5 separate regions of the Homo sapiens genome follow, and regions 1, 3, 4 and 5 are each linked to region 2. The links are contacts of gene promoters, found by promoter capture Hi-C in blood cells and fetal thymus (Javierre and others, 2016). All regions are on one chromosome and are shown on one strand. The core of a region is centred on a gene start or on the middle of the fragment in contact, and the rest is flanking DNA. Distances in the headings are between cores, read along the strand shown. Region 1 holds the start of CDK14 (cyclin dependent kinase 14). Region 2 holds the start of FZD1 (frizzled class receptor 1). Region 3 has its middle 12 kb from the start of MTERF1. Region 4 has its middle 93 kb from the start of MTERF1. Region 5 has its middle 31 kb from the start of MTERF1.

Region 1 (3,747 bases), core at 550-3,049, 670 kb after region 2:
CCAGAACCCGCCTCTGCGACGGTTTGGGTCAGGGTTGAAACATCCTCGTTAATAATGCACACGACTCAACATTTCCCTCTCTCACACTCTTCTTGGCTTCAAACTTCATCTTAATGCAGGGACTCTCCACATGTATCCCTAATTCTGAAGAGTGAAATTAATATCCAATACATGCAATAAATAAAACTAAAGATTGGTTTCATACCATAACTTTACAGTCATCTGGGGAAAGATTTTGCATACCAACACAAAATTTTAAGTCGAAAGACAAAAAAAAAAAAAAAAACTTGGCTAAATTTCGATCCATTGTACTCTCTCACTTGAAGAAAGTTTGCATATCTTACAATGAATGGGTGGAAGGATATCTGTAACACTCATGTGCATCCCAGGGTTTTATTTTAAGGAATTAAGTACCTTTATGTTTAATTTCCATTAACACTTTCGTTAACATGGATGACATTTAAAACAAGTGAAACAAAGACTAGGCAGCTTCCTAGGGACTCGCAGGGGTTATCTTTTGTGTCTATAGCATTCTCTTGCTCAGGGCAGTTACATGTTATTAGTGAAAGTTGTGACAGTAGGGGAGGCAGCTAACTCTTCAGGTTAAAAGGGGTTTTCTATGCCCAGTACTCAAAATCTAACAAACCCATTCCACGTGATACTGCTGTCACCCTATTACAACCTGTGACATGCATTTATTCGTCACTGTCCTAAACACTGTTGGTCAGTTGGTTTGTTGTTTGGTTTAAAGACAACAGCCCCTGAGCTCTATTAAATGGAACAAGTTCGAGAGACATTCCTAAATGTCCAGACAACTCCACAGCGCGCATTTCTCTCCAGCAGCGGGAAGATTCAGAGACCTCGAGACTGAACACCCAAATCTCGCTTTCCAGGACCCGAAGTACCGAACAATAGGTCCCAAGGTAACTGTCCCACTTCCCTTTAGGTTGGATACGTTAAACAATACCAGGGCACAGTCTAACGTTTCACCAATTTCCAAAGCTAAATTACTGACTAAACGCCCAATATCCAAGCCTGTGCGCAAAAAATAACAAGTGGCCCAAGCAGCCGCGCAGCCCCTTGCGCGGTGGGGGCCGAGGGGTCCCCTCGCCCGTCCCCCACGCGCGCGAAAGGGCGAGCACTAGTGGCGGAGGAGGGGAGAACCCATATTGTAGGCTTGAGAGAATCTACAAATGAACCCCCAGATCCTGAGGAAGAGGGGTCTCTTTCCTTTACGTCCTTGCCCTCCCCCGGGTCCCTAGCACTGTGCCCTCGATCCCCGCCTACAACGCACCCCACGCCAGCCCCGCTGGCAGCTGCATGGCTGGTGCCAGGAACGCGGCGGGGGCGCAGGCCGAGGGGAGCGGGCGCTGGGGGGGCCGGGGGCAGCGCGCTACTCACCAATGCGACTGAAACTCTCCGACAAAGTTCTCCGCAACTTCTTCATCTTGCCGATCTTCTCGGCCGGCTGCGGCTCAATGAGGTCACACATCTGGGCGACGCGGAGCCCCGACAACTTCCCCAAACTGGTCCAGGCACAGCTCAGACAACGGCGAGGGCGCGCGCCGCGGGGAAAGCGGCGCCTCCTCCTCCACCACCTCCTCGGCGGGCCGGGAAGCGACGCGCAGGTCTAGGGAGGCGAGCAGCAGGCAGGCGGAGGACGGCAGGCTCCGCTCCGGCCTGGGCCGCAGCTGGGCGGGCGGGGGCGGTTTACGTGGTGCCGGGGGCGGCCGCGCTCGCCGCCGCCGTGGTGGCCCCGCGCCGCGCCGCCGCCGCCCGGCTCATTTTCCCTCCTTTGTAACGGAGAGAAGCGCGGCCGGCAGGGGGAGTGGTGCGGCCGAAGGAGGAGGCGGGGCGGGCCGGGTACAAGGTGCGGGAGTCGCCTGGCGCCGAGTGCGCGGGGCGAGGGCGAGTGGGCCGGCGGGAGAAGTTCTCAGCCCAGAGTTGCGGGCGCAGCGCAGAAGGAGCCGCGGCGCGGAACCGCCAGCCTGACAGCTCCTGCTGCCCTCCTGCTGCCGCCGCCACGCCCCTCCCTCGACGAAGGCCCCTGGGCGCGGGATCCTAGCACGACCTCGGCTCCCCGCTCGCCTCCCGCGTCCTCCGCGGCCCTCTGTGTCTGGCTCGCGCCCCGGCGGCGCCCCCTCCCGGCCGCGCCCCTCCCGGCCGCCCCCGCGCTCCTCCCCCGCCCCGCCCGCGCGCGGGAGGATCACGAAGGGACCGGGGTGGGAGCGGGCAGCGTCTGGGGACAGCGTGTTGGGCTGTGGGGAGGTTACCGAAAGGAAACGGGCCGAGTCCAGTTGTTTGAGCGGTTTTCTCCTTCCACGAGCGTGTGTGAAAAAGCGCGGAGTTCGGTGGAGGGCAGCTGCCAGGACTGCCTCCTGGACTGGGTGCGGTAAGGCCTTAGGGATGCATTCAGATGTAGGGTGCCTTATTTTGGGCCGAGAAAGCTGTCAAGTGAAAGATCCAAGGGGAAAGGTGGGCCTGGATTTTTTTGTTGTTGTTTGCGGTGGGTTTTTTGTTTGTTTTGAGGTCAAGTGCAGAAGCAGCGGAAGCTTCAACTGTAACCCTCCAGAAGGCAGGGATCATGCTGTTTCCCTCATCCTTGTCTCTGATCTTGGTGACACATGTAGGTGATTTCTGATAGGAATACCCAGTTCTGCAGTAAATAGCAGACACAGCCCTTGGTCTTTTTCTATTAAATTCTTAGAATATATTTCTGAATTGGGAGATTTAAAGGCTAAACAGATTCCGACCTCCTTTTCCCCCACCTCAAAAACAGAACTTTAAAAAGGAGTGGGGGAGGTGTTTATAAAATCCCAGGACAAACAGTTCCAGCAGCGAACACACATCGTCTTCATTCTGAAAAAACCTGGTGCGGCGTGAGTTCCAAACGTCAGTCTCCCAGGGGAGAGAGAAGGAAGGTGGGGGAGGGCTTGATTGTGTTGATCTGAGGCCAGCAAACTCCTTATGAATAGAAACGTTAGTAATCTTGAGTCATTTGGCTGTGTAAGTAATAAGAGCTTGTGAGGGTGTGACAATGCTGTTTGGCTTGTAGGAAATTTTGGGGAGTTTATGTTTTGTTAAAAGATTTTTATCTTAAAAACTAGCCCCCTGCCTTCCTTAAATTGTGAGGTAAAACAGTGATTTGTTCCGCCCTACACTGAGCACATTGTAGGATCTTGATAGATTGCGGATGATAAAAGACAGGAAGTCAAGCTAAGTGGGGAGCAGAGGGGGGCAAGGAATTCGCCAGGAAAGACCATATGAGTTAAAACGCAAAGCTGTTGGATCCTGGCTGCCATGTCTAGATAATTACAGACAGCACCAAGGGTGGCCTCATACCGGAAAAAAGTTTGACTTTTACCACTTCCTCAGGTTAGTTAGGGAGAAAGTTTTCAGCAGTTATGAATGAAAAGACAAATGCAACCAATCAAAACACTAATGGGTTGTACGAGTCAACAAACACGAAGAAATATTAATTTAACGAACTTTCACTATTATACACCTGTGACTGTTATCCACTGTGACAATGGCTGTTTCAAATATATAATATGTTAAATATATGTTTATTTTACCTTCGCAGTATTTTTTTTTTTTTTTCCGAGACAGGGCCTGTCGCCCAGGCTGGAGTGCAGTGGCGCCATCTCGGCTGACTGCAACCTTCTCTCCTGGGCTCAAGCCATCCTCCCACCTCAGCCTCCTAAATAGCTGGGACTACGGGTGCGCACCACCACGCCTGGCTAATTT
Region 2 (3,853 bases), core at 1,169-3,668:
CCTGGGCATGGGCTGAGCCCCGGGTCTCAGACTGTAGTCTCCCCTTGTTTGCTGTTGGTGAGCCTCGTGTAGAACTTCCTCCAGGAGTTGAGGGTCTTGCCGGACCAGATCCAGAAGCCCGACGTGATGCCCACGATCAGCGTCATAAGGTACTTAATCATGAAGACCGTGAAGTCCGGGCTCATGGGCGGGTGCGGCGGGGCGCCTCCGCCCGCCTGGAGGTGAGGGCAGGGGATAGCGTAGCTCTTGCAGCTCTGGGCCACCCAGCTGCGTTCCCACTGGTCCCGGAAGGCCTGCTCGTAGAAGTAGCAGGCGATGACGATGGTGGCTGGCACAGTGTACAGCACGCTGAAGACGCCAATGCGCACCATGAGCTTCTCCAGCTTCTCGGTCTTGGTGCCATCGTGCTTCATGATGGTGCGGATGCGGAAGAGCGACACAAAGCCGGCCAGCAGAAAGGACGTGCCGATAAACAGGTACACGAAGAGGGGCGCCAGCACGAAGCCACGCAGCGCGTCCACGTTGTTAAGCCCCACGAAGCACACTCCGCTCAGCACATCGCCGTCCACCTGGCCCAGCGCCAGGATGGTGATGGTCTTGATGGCCGGCACAGCCCAGGCGGCCAGGTGAAAATACTGTGAGTTGGCTTCGATGGCCTCGTGGCCCCACTTCATGCCAGCCGCCAGGAACCAGGTGAGCGACAGGATCACCCACCAGATGGAGCTGGCCATGCTGAAGAAGTAGAGCATCATGAAGAGGATGGTGCAGCCCTCCTTCTTGGTGCCCTGCGCCACAGTGCGTGCCCCGTCCTCGGCGAACTTGTCATTACACACCACTCGGTCTTCCAGGAGGAAGCCGGCGATGTAGGCCACGGCCACGGCCGTGTAACAGCCGGACAAGAAGATGATGGGCCGCTCCGGGTAGCTGAAGCGCCGCATGTCCACCAGGTACGTAAGCACCGTGAAGAGCGTGGAGGCGCAGCACAGCACTGACCAAATGCCAATCCAGGTGCGCGAGAAGCGCAGCTCCTCGGGCCCGAAGTACATGAGCCCATACACCTTGGTCGGCTCACAAGGTGCGCCGCAGTCCTTCTCCCCCAGGAAGTGGTAGTTGAGGTAGGAGGGCACCTTGAGGGCGCGCGGGCAGGAGAACTTGCCTCGCTCCGACGCGCCGGCGCCCCCCGGGAAGCCGCCACGGTGCCCTCCGCCGCCGTGCTGAGGGTTGCTGGTCCAGAACTCTGGAAGCAGCGAGGGCGTCGGGGTGCCCTTGTCGGACGTGTTCTGGCCCACGCACAGCTCGCCGGCGCCGTGCACCGGGAACTTCTCACACTTGAGCGTGTCTGGCCACTGGAAGCCGAACTTGTTCATGAGCGCCTCGCAGCCCTGGCGCGCGCGCTCGCACAGGGAGCGGCAGGGCGGCAGCGCCTGCTCTAGCACGGTGCACACGGGCGCGTACATGGAGCACAGGAAGAACTTGAGCTCAGCGGAACACTGCACTTTCACTAGAGGGTAGAACTGGTGCACCTCCAGGCCCGCGTCCTCCTGGTTCGTGTGGCCCAGCAGGTTGGGCATGATGGTCTGGTTGTACGCGATGTCCGTGCACAGCGGGATGGAGATGGGCTGGCAATAGCCGTGGTCCGGGACGGAGATGCCCCGCTCGCCGTTGTACTGCTGCCCGCTCTGTTGCTGCTGAGGCGGCGGCGGCGGTTGCTGCCCCGGCCCGGGCCCCTGGCCTGGCCCCTGGCCCGCCGCCTGGGCCCGGACCCCCAGCAGCAGCGGAGCCTCCAGCAGCCAAAGCAGCAGCAGCAGCTGGCGCGCCAATCGCCGGGGGTCAACTGGCGGGCGGCGGCGGCCACCGGCGTCCCCGCTGCCCTCCTCCGCCAGCCGGGCCGAGAGCGCCCCGGCACAAAGTTCCCAGCTCGCGCCACCGCCGGCGGCCCGGGACTTCTTAGGCGCCTCCTCCTCAGCCATACTTTCTCGGCTCCTCTCTTGGCGCCGCTCCGCTGGGGCTGCCAGGGGCACGGCCGGCGGCGGCTCCCCCTGCGGCCAGGGAGACCTCTGCGCGGGTGCCCTCCGTCGAGCCCAAGCCGCTTTCGGCCCGCTCCCCCGGCTCCTGTTCTGCGTACCGCAGCCGCCGCCGCCGCGGAAACTTGCGATTCATGAAGCGCGGGCGGCGGGGAGAACCCGGGTGGCTAGGGCGCGCCGGGGTCGTGTCCCGCCTTCCTGGCCCTCGGCTCGCTGGCTCCCGGCTGGCGGCGCCGCGCTAGTGGCCGCGGCCCCGTAGAGAGCGCAACTCTCCGCAGCCCAGCGGGCTCGGCTCCCCCCTGCGCCTCCGCCTCCTTCTCCGCCGCCGCCGCCTGACCATTTGTGTCAATCCCTCAACTCGCTCCCTCTCCTCTGCCTCGCGCGCCCTCGGACCGGTTTCCAGGCGCCCCGTAGTCTGTCTTTCACCAGGAGGGAGGAGCCTTGAAACCGACGCAGAACTGGAGGCTCAGGGACCGTCGCCCAATCGCGGCTCCGGCTTCCCGGCGCAAAGGGAGCCGGCCGCCTCCTCGCCAGAGCGAAAGCCAGCGGCAGGAGGGCGGGGTAGGAGGAGGCGGGAGGAGGAGGAAGTAGTGGTGGTGGCACTACTCAGGCACAAAGAGTAGGATTGCTCTGAAGCGGGACAGGCTTGGTTGCTTTTGCTTTTTCAGAAGAAAAAGGCGAGGATACGTAGGAGAATGGTCCCATATGCTGCTGGAGATAATGAATAGGAGTCAGAGGACCGCGGGACTTCGCTTTTCTTTTATTTTATCCATTATCATGTTTAAAAATCCTGCTCTTAACGCTGGTTACCAACAGCAAACCGGGTTCTGCTTCCAGAACAGATGCCTTTGACTTAAGGAGCGCACGGTTTCCTTTGAGTTTGTGTCTGTCGAGGTTTTGTTTAACATATTACATTAATAAATCCTCCAGTTCGCAGGCTGGGCTTGGCGGGCTTTGGTCGCGCCATTTCCCCAGAGGAGACGTTCACGGGATCGCTGTCAAATGAAACAAAACACAAACTTTGATGGAATTTGGAAAGTAAAGCCAGATGCGCCTTCTGCTACTATCATTCTTCTTGGAGTCAAACTCCTTTTTTTCCGCCTCTTTAATCAAGTCAGAAACAGAAGCAAAAGAAAACTATCCATTAAATTTTTGGAGAGAAAAACTTAAGAACCCGACGACCGAGGCAGTGGGGGCGCCTCTCTGGGATCGTCCTCGCCGCTCCAGACCGCAGAGGTGGCGCCGGCGGGAGCTGCACTCGCCGGCAGCTTGGGCCCCTGGGGAGCCTTTCTAAACCCTGGGGACGCCCACGGCTCCGATGGGAACTCCTGGGACCTGGGCCATTTAGGTTCCACAGGCTGGGCTGCAGAGCTGGAGACGCCAGTTTAATAAACAAAACAAACAAACAGTCTGAAAGCAAACAGCGAACTGCACATTCTCTTCCTAATTCCAAAACAGCATAATCCGTCTCAACAGACGCACATTAATGTTGTTTTCCTTGTAAGATTATTTTAAATGATGGTTTGACTATGTAATTCAGTTTTATAAGAAAAGTGCCATTGGACTATTAATTCTTCCATTTTTTTTTTTTTTTTGCCTGTGATCAGACTCTATCTCAGCGTACTTTTCACCAATTACTTTCTATCATTCATTTACACATTCATTTGTTTAATAGATACCAACCACCCATTGTGCTATAAGCACTCTTAGGTCGTAGAGTATAAAATGAAGGAGACCTGTGCCAGCCTTAGAGAGGGGCATAGTACAGTGAGGCACAGAAATGCAAATCACTTGTTACAGTGTCCATCCCAAAGCCAAAAAGGCACATA
Region 3 (3,820 bases), core at 1,107-3,606, 600 kb before region 2:
ATAACATGATTTTTTAATGGCTGCATGAAATTCTGTTCTTTGGATAAACCATAATTTGTCACCATTGGTCAGAGTGAGTAAATTTTAGTACATTAGCAATTTTTTGAAAATCCTACCTAGATTATTTCAGTATTCCGTAGTGTTAATGCATACCACCATGTTTTAATCGTTGGTATATTTTATAACTTAAAATTTTGGTCTAGAAAATATAAATATTAAGAGTGCTGCATTTTGCCGTTCTCCAAATGTCAGATGGATCTGTAAAACTTCATTTTTAATGGAAACCATTCTAAATTATTGCCATAAATTTGAGCACTTTCAAATAACTGCAAGAATTTGGATAATATCACAGATTAAAAAGAAAAAAAATGAGTTTCTTCCAGATGAATTTAGCAGGAAGGAATTTAAAAAGTGAATATTTATAGATGGGTTTATTGGGTTATTAAACTAGTAATTTCTCCCCTTAAATAATTTCTAAGGCTGGGTAGGTACATGGTCTATGGCTAAAGATCCAACAATATAGCTTTCCTGTAAAAAAACAAAACAAAACCCTGACTACTGGCTCCTTCCTTGTTAGTCTGTAATGCCTCCTTACTTGCTACCATCTAGTGGAGATCCAGTAGAGAACTGTTGATGGCAGAACCCTAGCCACAAACTTTGGTAATAGTCCATTGTTATACAGTTCAGGAAAAGTTTGGCACAAGCGAGCTAGAATAGCAGGACTGTATTATTATTAGATTTTGGGAAGAAATAGAAGATACACTGATGGAATTTCATTTTCTGTCTCAGTTTCACTATTTTTCTGATCAGTATTTGGGATTTATTTGTCCTTAATAGAAATATTATGTGAAGATTAATGAACTTTTGTACATGAATTGCTTTATGTTAATTATGAACAATTTTAGTATGATGATATGCTAATTCTTTCATTTCCATTTTGAATATCCCAGTGCCACTTTCACCAGCTCTCAAGGTACCTTCAAATTCTGCCCACCATAATTCTCTTTCTTTTAAAAGTTTACCTTGGAAATGAATTTATTCTGTGGTAATAATCATTGTAAAAGTCTTTGAACAATACAAAGAAACAAAGTCTCAGCTAACCTATTTATCATGAGGTTGAAGAGATATCCTTTTATTCTTAGTTCACAAAGGGGTTTATTTATTTAAATCAGGGATGAAAGATGGTTTTTGAAAAAAAATCCTTTAAAAGTAATCTCTTAATCATTTAATGAATGACATCAGTGGATTTCTGCATATCACTTTTTGTTTTTACTTAAAACCTATGCCCTATTCAATTTACTAATATTTTACTTAGATTTTCATTAGTATTCACAAGGGAGATTGGTCTACAGATCCTTCCTACCTTTTATTATGAAAGTTTTGGTACATAGATTTTTTTTTTTTTTTTTTTTTTTTTTAATAGGGGAAGGAGGTTGCCACTTTGTCAGGTTTTTGGATCGGGGCTGTGCTAGCCTCAAGATAATTTGGAAGCTTACTATTTTTTCCCTATGTTTTGAAACTGTTTGAAAACTGGAAATGATCATTTCTTTAAAGTTTGGCACAACTTTGAAATTATCTGGGCCTGGTGTTTTGTTCAGAATAGATCTTTTACAACAATGGAAAGTTGTTGTAAAGGCTTATATGAAAGCTATTGACCTGTATCTTTTTGGTAGACAGCAATATAAAGCTCTCTCTTATTGTAGTTAATACATTTTGGTTTGAATTCTACATTGAAATTAACATTGCCATGCTTTATGTCTATTCAAATAATTGTACTTGTTCAAACAGCTTTACTTGGAATAACCAAAAACTGGAAGTAACCCAATGGACATTGGAACAACATGGAATTGAAAAGTACATTGTGATATATTCAGGCAGTGGAATATTACTCACCAATATGAAATAATGAAATATTGATACATGCAACTACATGAGCAAATCTCAAAATATGCTGAATGAAAGAAGCGAAAGAGTAAAATCTTTATTATTCAGTTTACATAAAATTCTAGACAGTGCTCACTAATTTGTGGTGACAGAAAGCAGATCATTGGTTACCGAGATGGGGTGGATGGATGAAGAAGGCCATGAAGAAAGGACTGCAAAAGACTACAGGGAAACTTTTGGGAGTGATCTATATATTCATCATCTTGATTGTGGTGATTGTTTTGTGAGTCAAAATGTATCAAATTATATGTTTTAAATATGTGCAGTTTAGTACACTTCAGTTATACCTCAGCAAAGCTGAAAAATCCATTCAACTCTGATTTGAAATGCCATCTTCGTCTGATGCTGTTTACATGTCTCTGAGTGTGTTTCTAGGCTCTCTTCAAGTCTACTAAACAAATATATTTGACTTTATGTTTCTATATTGACATAAATAGTTAGACAGTATCTTTTCAGTAAAAGTGTTGGGAGAACTGGGAAGCCACCTGAAAAAAAATATTGATAGATTCGTATTCATACACCAGGATAAATTCCAAGTGGAACAGTCATGAGCTCCAAACCACTCAAGCCCCTGCCTTGGCATTACACTTAATGACCTATACTTAAGTCAGGCCATGACATGAACTAAACACTGGTACTAATATCAGAATCTTTTTCATAGGGGGCTTCCTGGAACTTGACTTGGACCTATGGGCTAGAATTTACCGAAAGCAGCTGACCCGTGCTTTGCTTTTACTATTCCAGGAATGCAGATAAAGTCTAACTTCCAGCTAGACATGGTGGCTCGTGTCTGTATTCCTAGCTACTCGGGAGCCTGAGATGAGAGGATTCCTTGAGCCCAGGAGTTTGAGTCCATCCTGGGCAACATAGGAAGCCACCATCTCTTAAAGAAGAAAAAAAAAAAACCTAGATTTTGACCTTTTCGTCACAAGAAAACAAAGGCTCTTATGAAGTCCCATGCCCTGTTAAGCACTGGTTTATTTAATTAGTTAATGGATTGGGTTTACGCTGTCATACAGCTACATATAGCCTCCTTTTCCAAGGAAAGTAGGCTGCAACCACCCAAGTTAGAGGCAATCTTTTTTTTTTTTTTTTTTTTTTTTTTTTTTGCTTTACTGCAGTTAGGGAGAACTGATTGTCATGTTGTACCCTAAATATCAACTAAAGTGTCTATGACAAAATTAGTGCAGTTAGATCAGCATTATCCCACTCTGTATGTTTGAATTTCTCTCTCTGACCTGCACAGCTACTTCAGAAGCCCTTCTGAATGAAGCTTTATGTTTGCAATTCATATAAGTACAATACAGCTGGCTATAGCTTACTGTTTTAGCTGAATGTGATAAATTATTCACAGAATTAAAGTTTAACTTTGTGATAACAAGTATATAAATTATATATAACTGATTAAAAAGATTAAAATTAGGTCTTAATCTGTGTTTACTTGTGTGTAGAACTTCATGAACTGTAGGGGGAACTAGATAGAGGTTTTGCTGTACAGTTTCTAAAGCCAATTAGCTCTAAATCTGGCTGATAATCCAAACTAAATTAAGCGTCCTTTAAATGCCAAAAGAGGTCGGCACTGTGCCATTTTTTCTGTAGGTTGTCAGCCTTAAGCTGTAAGAAAATAAACAGATACTTTTGCATATATATATTTCCCTGTTAGTTTAATGTCTGAAACTGTTTTCTTTTAATGGTTATTCTTTTTCTTTTCTCTCTCCCTTCCTTCCTTCCTTCCTTTCTTCCTTCCTTCCTTCCTTCCTTCCTTCCTTCCTTCCTCTCTCTCTCTCTTTCTTTCTTTTTCAAGTACCACTTTTTCATTTTTCATTGTCTTAGTTCTGAAATTACATTAGGGTGCTTTTTTCATTTTCATCTAAGT
Region 4 (4,024 bases), core at 744-3,243, 520 kb before region 2:
CTTATAGTGATTATTTAAAATTTTTCTCCAGAAGAAAAAGTCCATGCCACATTTGTGGAAATGGTTAAGTGACCACAGTAACAAAGAATCCAGGGATGATTTAGTGCAGATCATCATGCAGGTTTCCCAGCATGTGTATTTTAAACAGTATTGTGTTGTCTCCAAGTTTGCCAGAGTGTAATCTGTGAGCAACTGGGCAAAATCAGAATCAGAAACCTAGGAGAGTAATATTGTTTTAGAATTGTCTAGCAAAAGACTTTGGTTTGGTTTTGTTACATCTGGAACCAAAATGTCACATGTGGCATACATCATTTAAAGTTTATTATTTTAACCTTAGACCTCCTTGTTTAGAATTTATGCTATTCGGTGCCTTGCATCCCAACATAAGCATTTCTATTCTATTACACGCTAGTTCTTGCCAGTACATGGTGAGTATGGTGAAACCATAGCTTGAATGGCTGGACAGCCCCTTCCACAGTTCCATGCTTTTGCTGGAACTGCCAAACCCAATAGGTTCAAGGGGATGCTCAAAAATTAAGGCATGGCACTAGGTAATTGAAACCATTCTATGCACATCTGGAAAAAACCCCAATTCTGGTCACACACTCTGCTGAAACAGAAATCATCCCATGTTATTGCTGGGAGTTGCAGGAAAGTAAAAGTGGTATCATTTTACGTTTACAGAAGCATTTAGCATTTTCACGGACAGACTCAAAAGCTTGTGATTACAAAGTGTGAAATTCTTATTGTAATTATTCATGAAATCAACAGAACACATATCTAGCAATTGTTCCAAGACCTTCTTTCCTCCCATTTGTACAGGATAGCAATGATCCTACTGATCCATTCTATTGTCCATATCCAAACAAAACAAAACAAGCAAACAACAACAACAAAAATATACAATTTTCCCATTCAGTGGTTGACTTGTTCTAGCCAGGAAGTTTTAATTATTTGTCATTCAGAGTAAGTTCATCCTTGATGCTATGGTGTCCTTCATGCTGGCATGAGGCAAATTATCCTCTGGGATGAAGATGGAGTGAACTTGGCCTGGCTGTGGTCCCTGTAGAAGAGATAAAGGTGCTCAGGGAGTATATGTTTGTGCTCTTAAATCTAAGAAAAATCCCCAGATTGAGAATTTGATTATATTCACTGTGTAGAACTTGAACCTTCCACATGCCTTTAAAATTTACTTGCTTGCAGTTATGGATTTATATGTCCTCCAAAGTTTCATGTCACTTTCTGTGGTAATAATAATATAGCATCCTACTGCTTCTGAGGTGCTTTCAGTATCTTAATTATTTTTACAGTGTTCCCTTATGGGGCATATGGGGTAGGGATTATTTTTCCCACTTTGAAAATGAGAATCCTGAGGCCCAGAGAAGTTAAGTGGCTTACCCAGCATCACACAGGTAGCAAGGATAAGGCTGGCTCTCAAACAGATCTTCTGACTCCAAATCTTGTGCTACTTCCATTAGCATGTGGTGCCTCTTATGTTTTTTGTATTTTTTTCTCACAAAAGTAAATTCTGCTTTGGACCATTTTTCAAAGCAGTTTTGATGGAACACATCCAAATGCTGTTTCCATGGAACCGACAGCATGGAAATGTGCAGCTTCTCAGTCAGGACAGTACTTGTTATCTTGGAATTCTGGGACTGCTGAAGCTCAGTGTGAAATGGTTGCATACATTTCTACTTGTTTAAGCACAACAATTTGGTTGTTCTTTCTCTACGGTATGTATTTCTATCTTATAGATAGTTACTTATCTTAGATTTCTAAATCTCAAAGGTCCTGAGGGCCACTTACAGTCATACTCATCTTTCTATGCTCTACCGCACCTTGTCCAGTGACTTGCAGGAAGTAGTTGTTCAACAAATGTTTACTAAAAGGAATAAAAGATGACATAGTAGGATTTGAAGAATTAAAATGTATTTTCCTGTGTTAGCTATATCAGTCTTTCCAGTACAGATTTCTGCAATGATGGAAATGCTCTATATCTGGGCTGTGCAATACAACAGCTACTGTTGGCTAGTGTGACTGGAGAACTAAGTTTCTAATTTATTTAAATTTAAATTTAAGTAGCTGCATGTGGCTGGTGGTTAACGTACTAGACATAGCAGCTCTAAATTGTAATGTATTTGAACTTTGTCAGATCCTCACATCCTGATTATATTTGGGTCCTTCCATATGCTGATTGTTCTCACTATGTTTTTTGATGAGGAGATTGTACAGCCAGCCCTAAGCAAGGCGATAAAGGAGTGAGCTCAGATTTTCTCTCACACCTGCAGTGGAAGGCCCTTTCTGCTGCTTGACCTCTGGGGAAGGGCTGGTGCTTGCTTCTGAATGTTTTCTGGAAAGTAGGAGTGACTTGTCTCTTGGAGTTGCAAAGGGTTGACAGGGGCTCTAGAAGGTGACACAGTGGGGGATTTCTCAGTTTCTCAAGGCTAAGTAATATATTATCTAGGCCTGTAGGAAAGAAAAGTCCGTCATGTCCTCAGAAAAGCAAATTTTTCCTTAGAAGAAAGAGGAGAGCATGAAGCTAACATATGGTAAATAGATTTCCTCATGCATAAGTCCGAGTGGCGCTCCACTGGGGTAAGAATCTTTAGGCTCTGTCTCTCTCCTTAACATAGGCTGTGTACATCACCAGCAACCATTACATTATGTATTTTTTCTAATTGTGAAACTTCTAAATTCCTCCTTTGAAGTTGACAGTTTGGGATTAATAATAATAATAATAAAAACCTCTCTCCTCTTCTTACCACCTGACAGGAGCAGCAAAAACTGCCTAGGAAGAGAGAAATGCTGTTCCTGCAGGGTGGACCCCTTTAATCTCAGTGACTTCTGAGAACCCCCATTCCTCATTCAGTGGCTTCTGCTACTTCTCTTGAGGGGCCAAAAGGTTAAACAGAGACAGCGTCAGGAGTGAAATGGCAGCCAAATGGGAGAGTACAAGTTGGCCCTTGAGTCAAGGTCTATGTGTTATCATGTGATTCTGGGCACAAGTCCTTTCTCAGGATGTAAATAATGTTCTAAAGGTAGATTTTTAGGCTCTTGTGCTCTATTAGAAGTAAAGCAAACATTGAGGAAAGGAAAATGGGTGCATCATTAACACCAATGTACTCATGGGTGGCTGCAAAAGCTACTCTAAATTAATCTGAAATTTCAGGATGAAAACTTAAGAGTTAAGAATTGGCATCATTATTTGTGAAGCGACTCAAGAGTATCTATTGTGAATCAAAGAGCAGGATCTGCTTCAAGAAGCTTACTATCTAAGGCTGACAAAAACAGTAGATATTAATATTCTGTATTATGTACAAAACTGGAACTTAAAAATGTTTTTCCTTTATAAAAATATGTTCAGATTAACTTTTTAGCCTTCCTTCCTTTTCAAGTAGAGGTGGGAGGTAAGTATTATCTGTCCCTTTAGGCATAAGATGAAAACAAAGTGCAGAGAGGGAAGTGACCTGGCTAAGCTCACAGAGCAATCATGCCCCTATCTACATTGGCATTTGAGCAGGGAACTTCAAACAAGGAGCCACCAGGCTGGCCTTTCTCCTATGGAGTAAGATGACAGCTCCAATTCCTTACTGATGTAAGGGGGCCCGAGTGTATAGAATACATAAATAAATGTGCAAAAGAGGAAAAGAAACCTCAATCTGGCAAAGCTGTTGGAGAGAAGACAAATTAATACCTGTGACTCTGGTTCTGATTCCCTGAACTTTTTTTTTTTAATCAAGCTTTTGCTTTGAAATAATTTTATATATATGGAAAAGTTGCCAAGATACTACAGAGTTCCCATATGCCCGTCACCCAGTTTCTTCTGATATTAACATTTTACATTTGATTTCCTGAGTTTTGCAATAATTTTATATTCATGTTTACAAGTTAATTTGTTTCTATAATGTTCCTATAACATTCCCCTCAAGTTTACTGCTAAGATAGAATAACCTACATATATAATAAGGGTTCAACAGTTGAGCACTAAACATTTTGGTTAAAAAGTCACTTGAGAGTTTTAACT
Region 5 (3,648 bases), core at 643-3,142, 590 kb before region 2:
CTGTGTGAGTTGGTACCTGGTTCTCTATCCCTGGAAGTTCCCAGATTGCCACCAACAGCATTTCCTGGGGTCATGAGAGCACAGGGACTCCTCAAAAATTTGGTGGTCAGCAAATTGTTACAGGGGTAAGAGGAGCAGAGAAGCCCTACCCTTTCCGTAGGGCTATGGGTTTCTCAGGGGTTGATCTCTGCTGCACTCCTGCTGCTTTCCTTTTCTGCACTACAGCTTCATTCTCTGGACTCTCTGACAGATCCTGGTTGTCTTCCTTCATTTTTTCATTCAGATTTTGACCATTCACCTATAATTTTGATCTTATTTCTGAGGAGAACTGGCATCTGACATCCCTAGTTAGCCATCTTGAAAAAAAAAAAGCAACAAAAAACTGATGCTCCCTTTGTGAGAATCCATGCTTAAATTCTCCTTAGACCACTAAGACAGGAAAGGCTTACTTCTGAGCAGGTGGGCTATTTTCTATCTTGTAGAATCACAGTCATCCTGACCACATGTAGGTGGTTGTGCTTCTGTTATTTCCCCTCCTGTAGCTACCAGGAAGCTAAGCCTTTCAATATATTATTTTTCCAAAATTTTATTCTTAAAAATTTTAAACATATAAAAGTTGAAAGAATTTTACAGTTAACATCTACCTGTCGTCTATATTCCACTCCTTACATTTTATTATACCTCCTATATCATATATCTTTCCATGTATCTATATATCTATCAAAAATACTTATTTTAAAGTCCATACATGATAACTTCAATATCTGGAGCCTTTTTTAAATTTGTATTTTCAGTTGTTCTGGCTTGCATTCAAACTGTCTTGTTTCTTCATGTGCCTGGTTATTTTTTATTGTGTACCTGACATCATATTTGCCAAGGTTTAGAAAACATTTGAGACATGGAATGATACTAACTTCTTCCATAGAAGATTTATGTTTTCTGCCAAATACCTTTGGGCCTTAGCAATCTGTGACTCACCTCATTCCAATTTCAGGGACTGAAACAATTTAACACTGTGTAGGTCTGCCTACTTCTGCTTTACCTTTCCTTCTAGGTATCTCCTTGGTCTGAAGCCAAAATGAAGAGTATTTATGAGTCCTCCTTTTCCTTCAGGATCTGTAGTTTAGTCTGTCCCTCACCTAGTGCTATCAAAAGCCCTGCTTAGCCTCTCAGCTGCCCCTTTCAGAATCATTAAATGCTCCATGGGGATGAGCACCCTCAAAATAAGCAAAGTTCAACTTTCTGAGTGAGGCCACCAAATCCTAGACCACCTTTATTGAAAACTGGAACTCTTTTATTTAAATAGAGTTTATCCCATATACATTTAGTTATATGACAGATATTTTTTGCCTCAGTATTAACATCATATTTTAGGTTATATTTTCTGTGTTTATTGATTTTTAAAAATTTCACCATATGGTGTATTTTCTTTGATTTTTGTTATGTTTTGTTCTTTTGTTCTGATAATTAGGAAGTCTTATATTCTCTTTTTAGCTATAAGTTCTTTGTAGCTTTAAATGTATATAATACTTTTTTAAGGTTGTCAGTTTCCTTATCTGTAAGTTGTAATAATAAACTATTTTACTGAGTTGTGAGAATTAAAATAATCACACTAATCATTTATTTGTCATACCGCCTGGTATATGGTAAGCCTGTTATAAATGTTGGCTTTAGAGATTATATATTGCAAATGAATGAATCACAAGATCATAAAGCAGAGAGAAAAGAATACTGAAAAGGGAAGGGGAGAGTAAACATCCCCTGCTATTGGTGGGGTTCTCTCAGGCCCAGTATGCAGGTCTCTTTGGTAGCATCTTCATCCTCTATGCCATTTACTCAGTACCCATATCTAAGGTCCTGGCTTGGTCTTCACAGCAGACCTATCATGGAATAACTGGATAAACCTGAGACTGAGCATTCCTCTAAAATGTATTTGTCAGGATAATTTATTGACATTTTGTTGTTGTTTCCATTATCCCCAGGAGCTGTTATGTTCTGATTCTGGGATTCCTAGCTTCAAGGTATTATAAACTGCCTTTATATGGCAGACCTGAAAAATAACATGGATGAAAATGGAAGTTTCTTGGTCTCTGGAATAAAACCCCATCACCCATGTTATTGTTTTGGGATTAGAGATGTTGAGGGAGGGAGGCAATGGGAGCATGAAGGTGAGGGGTTTTCTGGGAGGGCAGAGGAAACAGAACTGGCAGGAATGGAAATAGCTTTCAGAGATTTGGGGGGAGTACTAATCTGGGTGATAGCTTAATGAATGGTTGCAACCTGTCCCCTTGCCTTTTAATAAGTCTTTGGATGGAGAGTTGAGGTGGTTCATGTTGATACTGTGGACAGCAAACATTTATAACTGTCATGGAAGCTGGCTTAAAAGATCCCTGGCACAGAAGAATGGTGTGGTCCTTCTTTGAATGGACTGGTGGACTGAGGCAATTAACATCTCATGTGTGATCATGATGGCCTAAGGATCATAAGAGATTTACTTTGTTTTCAGGGCACCATCCTGCTTCCCCATGCTGGTGGGGGGCATTGAAGAGGAGAAGGCAGTCACCCAAAAGTGAATTGGAATATCTTGATACTTCTGGCTGGTGAGGGCAGAGCCAGATTTTTTTTTTTTCTGAGTAGAACATATCCATTTAATGTGAGCTGTCTTGCTCTTAAATGTTGTAAAACAAATTTATACCTTTTTTTGTCCCCCACCCCCACCAAACCGATTGTTATCCAAGTGTGCTTTTTTCTCAACTTAGTCTCAATTAAAAAAGAAAAGATGTGGAAGGCAAATTTGGAAAAACACTTTTATCTCTTGACCTCCTTTGTTAGCAGCTGTAACAATCTTTAGGAAACTTCAAAAGGATACGTGGGAACAAAGGAGAAAAGCCAAGACTGCTGTTCTGTGATGCAGTAGACCAGGAGGAAGAGTGAAACCTTGGTGGAAGCAACAGGTGGTAGCAGTTGGAGGGGAATCAGAACAATCCCAGGGCTGCTGGAAGAAAAGAATGATGGTGTACAGGCTAGACCAAGGAGTGAGGCCTGAGGTGTACCCTGGCAGAAGACTTTTGTCGATTCCTAACTTCCTAGACCCCATCCCATACTTTCACCCCTCAGACCCAGTCTCTGTCTTCATACGCCCTTACATAAATCTTCCACTATGCTGGAGCCCTGGCTCCAGATGATAGTGGCCAATACTGGTGGTTTATATTTAGGACAAGGAAGTTGAACTCCTGTTGCCCAGTAGCAGGGGAGGTCTGCAAGAGGGAAGTGAGGATGATGTTACCAGAAGTTGTGTCACAGGCATAAAAGGTCAGAATTCTTAATGAATTTCCTCAGAGACATTATTATACATCATTCCATAGTATTACTTAACACAGGTGCGTTTTATTCCTATTAAAATATCAGCACAACTATATGTTGGGTTAAATAGGCTTTTAACCTTTTAAATGACCTTTCTTAAGAACCTAACCAGTGGGTATAACATTGTTTCTGTGGTAAAATGCTTTTAAAATCCTACAATAGACTGACAAAAGAGCCTTTGAATACAATCTGTTTGTAAATTGGATTGGCCTGGCTGGGGTAAGGAGGCCCACCCTGTTCTTTAGCTTTAATGTCTACCCTTGTTCAAAGAAGGCAAAGTCTTTT

What was found. Contacts are between HindIII fragments. The CHiCAGO score rates a contact against its expected background, and 5 or more counts as called.
Region 1: the fragment with the promoter of CDK14 here is called in contact with the fragment with the promoter of FZD1 in region 2 in 1 of 17 cell types (monocytes); the score reaches 5.8 in monocytes.
Region 3: a contact is called between a fragment that was not itself captured here and the fragment with the promoter of FZD1 in region 2, in 1 of 17 cell types (erythroblasts). The highest score is 5.4, in erythroblasts.
Region 4: a contact is called between a fragment that was not itself captured here and the fragment with the promoter of FZD1 in region 2, in 1 of 17 cell types (endothelial precursors). The highest score is 6.7, in endothelial precursors.
Region 5: a contact is called between a fragment that was not itself captured here and the fragment with the promoter of FZD1 in region 2, in 1 of 17 cell types (M2 macrophages). The highest score is 5.1, in M2 macrophages.

The regions. Positions count from the first base shown.
Region 1 is chr7:90,594,373-90,598,119 of GRCh38, reverse strand. It overlaps CDK14 (cyclin dependent kinase 14), which reads right to left and starts at 1,799. Exons shown (of 15, transcript NM_001287135.2): 1 at 1,402-1,799. The coding sequence starts at 1,492. RefSeq lists silencers at 1,162-1,211, 1,272-1,471, 1,662-1,971, 1,992-2,191. The HindIII fragment of the contact is 4,165 bases long and covers 1-2,554 here.
Region 2 is chr7:91,262,998-91,266,850 of GRCh38, reverse strand. FZD1 (frizzled class receptor 1) reads right to left here and starts at 2,418. Exons shown (of 1, transcript NM_003505.2): 1 at 1-2,418. The coding sequence starts at 1,970. The coding sequence ends at 27. RefSeq lists silencers at 1,674-1,733, 1,824-2,333 and an enhancer at 2,454-2,633. The HindIII fragment of the contact is 4,268 bases long and covers 1-3,853 here.
Region 3 is chr7:91,866,652-91,870,471 of GRCh38, reverse strand. No RefSeq gene overlaps it. Among named protein-coding and RNA genes, the nearest start is that of MTERF1, 12 kb to the left of the region's middle. The HindIII fragment of the contact is 1,726 bases long and covers 1,494-3,219 here.
Region 4 is chr7:91,785,683-91,789,706 of GRCh38, reverse strand. No RefSeq gene overlaps it. Among named protein-coding and RNA genes, the nearest start is that of MTERF1, 93 kb to the left of the region's middle. The HindIII fragment of the contact is 2,546 bases long and covers 721-3,266 here.
Region 5 is chr7:91,847,977-91,851,624 of GRCh38, reverse strand. No RefSeq gene overlaps it. Among named protein-coding and RNA genes, the nearest start is that of MTERF1, 31 kb to the left of the region's middle. The HindIII fragment of the contact is 5,788 bases long and covers 1-3,648 here.